2 separate regions of the Homo sapiens genome follow, and region 1 is linked to region 2. The links are contacts of gene promoters, found by promoter capture Hi-C in human tissues and cell types (Jung and others, 2019). All regions are on one chromosome and are shown on one strand. The core of a region is centred on a gene start or on the middle of the fragment in contact, and the rest is flanking DNA. Distances in the headings are between cores, read along the strand shown.

Evidence for each region. The method cuts DNA at HindIII sites, captures the fragments that hold promoters and counts their contacts. A contact is called where the count stands out against the background at its distance.
Region 1: a fragment that was not itself captured here is called in contact with the fragment with the promoter of OR10G3 in region 2 in 2 of the 25 tissues and cell types used here (aorta and lymphoblastoid cells).

The regions. Positions count from the first base shown.
Region 1 is chr14:21,257,055-21,260,848 of GRCh38, forward strand. The region is part of intron 2 of HNRNPC (heterogeneous nuclear ribonucleoprotein C); the gene reads right to left. Among named protein-coding and RNA genes, the nearest start is that of HNRNPC, 10 kb to the right of the region's middle. The HindIII fragment of the contact is 7,394 bases long and covers 1-3,794 here.
Region 2 is chr14:21,578,772-21,582,650 of GRCh38, forward strand. OR10G3 (olfactory receptor family 10 subfamily G member 3) reads right to left here and starts at 1,305. Exons shown (of 2, transcript NM_001005465.2): 1 at 1,015-1,305. The HindIII fragment of the contact is 16,961 bases long and covers 1-1,511 here.

The sequences.
Region 1 (3,794 bases), core at 308-2,807, 320 kb before region 2:
AAAAGGCAACAGTACACAAGAGACTGGTTTGAGGCATGAACATCAGGAGCACAGTTTTGCACTTTTAAGTTGACATATTGGATATTCAACAGAGTTGTCATGCAGGTAAACTGAATTGGTATGACATTCGAAAGAAAAGTATAGGCTGTTGATCTTAAGTGTCGAAATCAGCTTATAGGTGGTATATTACATCATGAATGAATCTGAATGAAATTGGACCCAGAGTGTGGACAGAAAAGAGAAGTGGAAGGACTGAACCATGGGGCACTCCAACAGAAAGAAGTTTAACATGTAACAGAAACATGTAACAAAAACCTGGAAGCAAAGTAAAAAAAAAATAAAAACGTTTCAAGGAAGAGATCTGGTTAAATGGAACCAACAGGTCAAGTGAGATGAGGATTGAAAAAGGACCCCTGGGCTTAGTTAATGCATCCGTCTCCGTGGTTCTTTTTTAACCACAAATAATTTTTTTCTAACTGAAGTTCACTTCGGTTTTATAAGTCTTAGAAAAAAAAAAAAGATAGCTCACTTTTGTTTTTTTACTTTAAGAGATAGGGTCTCACTCTTGTCACCCAGGCTGGAGTACAGTGGCGCAATCATAACTCACACTGACCTCAAACTCCTGAACTCAATTAATTCTACCGCCTCAGCCTCCCAGGGAGCTACACTACAGCTGTGTGCCACCGTGCCCAGCTTTTTGTAGACAGGCTCTTGCTATGTTGCCAGACTTTCCTGGCCTTAAGCTATCCTCCAACTTCAGCCTCCCAAAGTGCTGGGATTATAGGCATAAACTGCTGCAACTGGCCTAAAGCTCACTTTTAAAATGTGCTTGCTTCCCTATTAACAATGCCATCACAACCATGGTAACATTTTACCAAGATACATCTACCTAAACATTAACTACCTTGCACATATACACATCTTTAAGCCATTTAAGGTGTTGGGAAATCAAGGGCAAAAATATAAACATATTTAGTTTTAAAATTTTAATAATAAAAGTCCAAAGTTGTTCTTTGGAACTTTAACCAAACTAAAATCTGTTTTTCTAGAATGCTCAGCCGGACACAGTGGCTCACGCCTGTAATCCCAGCACTTTGGGAAATCGAGGTGGGCGGATCACGAGGTCAGGATTTCTAGACCAGCCTGGCCAACATGGTGAAACCCCATCTCTACTAAAATATAAAAATTAGCTGGGTGTGGTGGTGCATGCCTGCAATCCCAGCTACTCAGGAGGCGGAGGCACAAGAATCGCTTGAACCCAGGAGGCGGAGGTTGCAGTGAGCCAGAGATCATGCCACTGCACTCCAGCCTGGTGACAGAGCGAGACTATGTCTCAAAAAAAAAAAAAAGTTCAACATATCAAAGTGACGAAAGGAGTCTACTATCATTAAGTGTTGAAATCTGCACCCTTAATCCCAGGGTTGAATCCATGCTAAACCACTAAAGCAGTTTAACTTTAGGCAAGTTATTTAAATTCTGTACTCCAATATTCTCACCTCTAAAACATGAATAACAGTATCTACTCCTACTCAAGGTTTTGATGATGATTAAGTTAACACAAACTCACAACTTTAACAGTGTTGGACATAGTCAAGTGTTTAGAATACTTCCATAAATTAATGTCCTGCTACTTTTTTCTGCCAAATCAGAAAGCCATTATATGACCCAACAAGGTATCAGAAATAATTAGTAATTTCCTGGAGCCTCATCAGTTCTCAACCTATCTTACTCAGACTGATTTTGCTCATTAATACACCCAATAAAAACTCATTTGAAAAACCAGGGCAAGTTATTGTTAGGCTTGGGATGATTATTTTCTTCAAGAGATTGAGACAGTGGCCTACTCTAATAGGTCTCCAAACTTACTGCCCTACTTGCCCTCTTAGTTCTCATCACTAATATTCCCTACACAACAGAAGATAAACCAGACCTCTTCTTCAAAATCCTTCAATAGATTCTACTTGTGCCCAAGACAGGATCTTAAACAAGACCCTCTAAGGTCCCGTGCTATGAAATGTTTGGTCCTTGCCTACCTCTCTAACTCCATCCCTCATCTATGTATTCTTGGTAATTATTTTCCAGTATTATTTCTTACTTGGAGGCCAAGTCTTGTTCCCCCTCATTATCTGTGCTTTCACATATGGTTTTCTTACAGAATGAGCTTCACCATTAGCTACTTCCACGTAGCTAAGCTTCCCTGGCAGCATCCCCCAAATTCCATGTTCTAATTTTGGTTCCCTTGCCATCTTCTCATCCACGCTCTTCTTTTCCTTCATCGATCCTTACTGTGAAAAGTGCCATTTACTTTGTTTCTTCCCTCAATGATCTATAATATCTAAGAGGGCAGGGGACATGTTTTGTTCATCCCTATATGCCCAAACCTAATGATTTTCAAATAGTACTCAGATACTTAATAAAACATCTTATACTTGAATGTTCCTTGAATACCTCCAAGATGTTTAAAATATTCTTTTTCCCACCCTCAAACTATAATCTGCTCCCTTCATTCATTCCCCAATATCTATCCCTATCCCAGAAGCTAGAAACCAGCAATCATGCCAAATCTGTGTTCTTGTCCACCTTATCACATCCATCCTGAGATGCTCCTAATTTTACCTCCTAATCTCTAATCTCATAGCATTACCTTTGTCCAAGCCAGGTCGTTATTCTTTCTTGGATTTTAATATCTCCTTTATTAATCTCCTACTTCCAATCTCATTTCCTCTACACCATTTCCATACTGTTATTAGAAAGACATTCCTAAAAATTAAAATCTTCCAGGAGTTTTTGAGACCAGCCTGGGAAACAAAATGAGACCTGTCTCCACCAAAAAAAAAAAAAAACAATAAAAAATAGTCAGGTGGGCCGGGCGCGGTGGCTCACGCCTGTAATCCCAGCACTTTGGGAGGCCGAGGCGGGCGGATCACGAGGTCAGGAGATCGAGACCATCCCGGCTAAAACGGTGAAACCCCGTCTCTACTAAACATACAAAAAAATTAGCCGGGCGTAGTGGCGGGCGCCTGTAGTCCCAGCTACTTGGGAGGCTGAGGCAGGAGAATGGCGTGAACCTGGGAGGCAGAGCTTGCAGTGAGCCGAGATCGTGCCACTGCACTCCAGCCTGGGCAACAGAACAAGACTCCATCTCAAAAAAAAAAAAAAAAAATTAGCCGGGCATAGTAGCAGGTGCCTGTAATCCCAGGTACTCGGGAGGCTGAGACAGAGAACTGCTTGAAACCAGGAGGCAGAGGTTGTGGTGAGCCAAGATCACACCACTGCACTCCAGTCTAGGTGACAGAGCGAGACTCCGTCTTATTTAAAAAAAAAAAAAAAAAAAAATCCCTTTATGTGATTAAGGTAGAAGGAATAAATTTATAAATTTAAAGTTATAAATAAAAATAATAAAAAAAGGATTCCCTGACCTCTCAGGGTTAGTTAGGTAACCATTTCTGCATGCTTTCTTTTTTTAAAAAGAGATGGGGTCTCGCTGGGTGCGGCAGCTCACACCTGTGATCCCAAAACTTCAGGAGGCTGAGGCGGGTGGATCACCTGAGGTCAGGAACTTGAGACCATCCTGGCCAACATGGCATCTCTACTGAACCCTGTCTCTACTAAAAATAGAAAAATTTAAGGCCAGGTGCAGTGGCTCATGCCTGTAATTCCAGCACTTTGGGAGGCCGAGGCGGGCAGACCATGAGATCAGGAGTTTGAGACCAGCCTGGCCAACATGGTGAAACCTCGTCACTACTAAAAATACAGAAATTAGCCGTGCATGGTGGTCCGTGCCTGTAGTCTCA
Region 2 (3,879 bases), core at 55-2,554:
TAAAATAAATTTCACAATAAGACATATAAAATGGAAAATAATTTAAAGATGAATAACAATGGAACAAATATATACATATATAATATGAGAAAAGTTTGAGTTATTAAATTGAGAGACATGAGACAATTTCTATTAAAATGTAAAACCCTTATTAGCAATGAGTTAGAATTGTCTGTTTAAAATATTTGCCAACAAAGAAATCAGGTTATAGCTTTACTCATGTCCATTTTTCAAATTTTGGGCAGAGAACTTGTCTTATAGGTGGAAGGGACCTGGTGAGGACAAAAAGAACAGAGCAAGGGTGGCACCACCACAGAACTCGAAGATGCTCTTCCTAGTCTGGTTGGTATTAAAACCAGTGAATGGACTTTTAATGGAGAATAGCTTTGGAGAAAAATTTAGCCAATTAAAGGCCTGGGGGAAATAGTGTTATCCAATATTAGCCACTATTTTTTAATTTTTTAATTTTTTTAATTTTAATTTTTATTTTTGAGATGGAGTCTCTCTCTGTTGCCCAGGCTGGAATGCAGTTGTGCCATCTTGGCTCACTGCAACCTCCATCTCTCAGGTTCAAGTGATTCTCCTGCCTCAGCCTCCCAAGTAGCTGGGATTACAGGCGTGTACCACCACCCCCAGCTAATTTTTGTATTTTTAGTAGAGATGGGGTTTTACCATGTTGGTTAGGCTGGTCTTGAACTCCTGACCTCAGGTGATCCGCCCGTCTTGGCATCCCAAAGTGCTGGGATTACAGGTGTGAGCCAACATGCTTGGCCTATTAGCCACTATTTATAAAAAGGCTAAATGGTAGTTACATAGTCATATGAGCAGAACAGCAAAGAAAATTTTTGTGACAGCAGAAAAAGAACTATACTGAGTAACTAAACAAGTAAGAATATTGAGAGATGAAGTGACTCAGAGTAGAGAAACCCCTTACACAATGTTTGGACTTAACATTTATCTCTGAAAAATGGGATTAGAACAGTGGCAGGTGCTATTTTGAGAAGAGGAACTCACCTGAAGGTGTCAGCATCCATCAAAAACTCTTCTTGCAGACGGAGAGAAAGGATACAAATCTATTCCTAAGGAATCTTGAATATCTCATAGGTCAGCAGCAATTATTGTGAAGAGCTCGTGGCAGAAGACCCAACTAATTACTTTTGGCTGGATCAAAGTAAAGAGTCAAACTATGGAAACTTAATTTATTATTTGCCTGCTTATTTGTAGAGATATCTGCTTCCAGCTTCCTTATGAACTGGGGGAGGAGCTGTGGCTCTTACTGAAGATAACTGTTAAGGTTGGTCTCTCCTGTGTTCTACTACTTCTTCTATTTCCCTCAGAGTCAGTTTTTATGTGTGAGACCTTTAGCTTGGGGAATATTGTAATAGCACTCCTGTGATAGGCAAGACCAATATCCATAGTTTGTTTCCTAGGAGACTCTCTGGGTTTCTAGCTTTTTCCAATTTTGTAACAGCAGGTGCGACAAAGTCTGTGGGGCTTAACAGGTCTCGTTGAAATCTTCAGATCTGTGGTTTTCTTTCTGTTCCAAAGCAAATTTGGAAAAAAAGAGAAGAAAAAGCTAACATGGTTGTTACTTGGCAAGAGATGTGTTCTTATTGGTGCATTCACATTTTAAGAAATTCACACTTTGAATTACTAAGGTGCTAACATAGACCTTCACAGACTAGAAGAAACAGAATTTCAGGGTTGGAGGGACATTAGAGGTCATCTGATCCAACTATCATCTGTAATGTTTTAAGTCAAGCTCCCTGAACAGTGATTTTTCTTTTTTAATTTTACAATTTTATTTATTTATTTATTTTTTGAGACAGGGTCTTGCTCTGTCGCTCAGGCTGGAGTGCAGCGACGTGATCACGGCTCACTGCAGCCTCATCCTCCTAGGCTCAAGCGATTCTTCCACCTCAGCCTCCCAAGTGGCTGGGACTACAGGCACATACCACCACACCTGACTAATTTTTAAATTTTTCGTAGAGACGAGGTCTCACTAGATTGCTCAGGCTGGTCTTGAACTCCTGGGCTCAAGTGATCCTCCTCCCTCTACCTCCCAAAATGCTGGGACTACAGGTGCAAGCCACTGCCCCCGGCCTGTTATTTTTCTTAGTATTTCTTGGTCTTGTTTCCTTGAATACTTTGAATTTGGTCTAACTTATTTTCTTCTAGACTTAAATTTGGTGTTGTCGCAACATTTTTCCCAACTGTCTTCAAATGTCCAGAGATGGTCTGTGTTGTAAAAGAACATCTTGAATATGGTTTAGTTTTATTATTTTTTCCACCAAACTTTTGTGGAGGTCTCTGTAGCTTCCAAGCCACAATTGTGTTAAAGTGTCTAAAGCAGAGGAAAGCACACTTTCTCTCTAAAGAGGCAGATAATAAATGTTTTTGGCCTTGAGGACCATACAGTCTCTGTTGCAGCTACTCAACTCTGCCATTGTATGGGAAAGCAGCCATAAAATACACATACAAATGGGCATGGGTTTTTTTTTTTTTTGAAACGGAGTCTCACTCTGTTGCCCAGGCTGGAGTGCAGTGGTGTGATCACGGCTCACTACAACCTTTGCCTCCGGAGTTCAAGTGATTCTCCTGCCTCAGCCTCACGAGTAGTTGGGATCACAGGCACCTACCACCATGCCCAGCTAATTTTTGTACTTTTAGTAGAAACAGGGTTTTACCATGTTGGCCAGGCTGGACTAGAACTCCTGACCCCAGGCAATCTGCCCGCCTCAGCCTCCCAAAGTGCTGGGATTACAGGAGTGAGCCACCTAGCCCAACCCCGGCATGGTTTTATTTATTTACTTAATTATATACTTTACTTATAGATACTATAATTTGAATGTCATAATTTTCATGTATCATGAAATATTATTTTCATTTTGCTTTTTTCAACAACTTAAGAAATGTAAGTTCTAGCAGGGTGCAGTGGCTCATGCCTGTAATCCCAGCACTTTGGGAGGCGAAGGTGGAGCCCAGGAGTTCAAGAACAGCATAGTGAATATAGTGAGACCCTTTCTCTACCAAAAAAAAAAAAAAAAAAAAAATTAGCCAGATGTGGTAGCACATGCCTATGGTCCCGGCTACTTGGGCAGCTGATGTAGGAGGACCACTTTAGCCTGAGAGGATGAGGCTGCAGTGAGTCGTGATTGTACCACTGTACTCCAGCCTGGGTGACAGAGTGAGATCGTTTGTTAAAAAAAAAAAAAAAAGTAAGTTCTTAACAGGTTGTACAGAACACACGGGGCAGGCCAAATTTGGCCCACAGGTGAACAGAGCTGATGTGGGGAAACACGAAGCATGTTTGTGGCTAATCAGTGAGGAGAAATGGCTGAAAGTCTGTGTGTGTGGCTTTTGTGCAGAGCCACAACCCATACTGATCCCTATAACTTCAGGAATTGCAGCCTAGGTTTGAGATTTGACCTTCCAACAAACTGTGGACTCATAATTCTGATTGTGATCTGTTTCCCGGGTATAGACTGGTTTGCGAATAACCAGGAATTAAGTTGGAAAGTAGGATTGCTCTGGGACTGACTTGAAGAGGGCTGCCATGTATCCTACAGGATAAATTGCATAGAACTGTGATGGTTGGCAATCAATCAAACTCATTATACCACGTGTGGGTGGAAGACTGCTGCAGGTGGGCAGGTGAAGCCACGCAAATATTGGTATTTCTCCTTGAGGTCCTGATCTTTTCTTGTATTTTGCTGCTTCTACTACTCCAGGAAGCATACTTTCAGCATGAAATGCAATACTGTATTGAGTCATGTACGCAGACATCATGTTTAAACCAGGCAGTAATTTGGAACTCAAGTTTTCTTTCTTTTTTTTTTTTTCTCCTTGTGTTTTCTTCTGCATGATCCTGGGAGATCG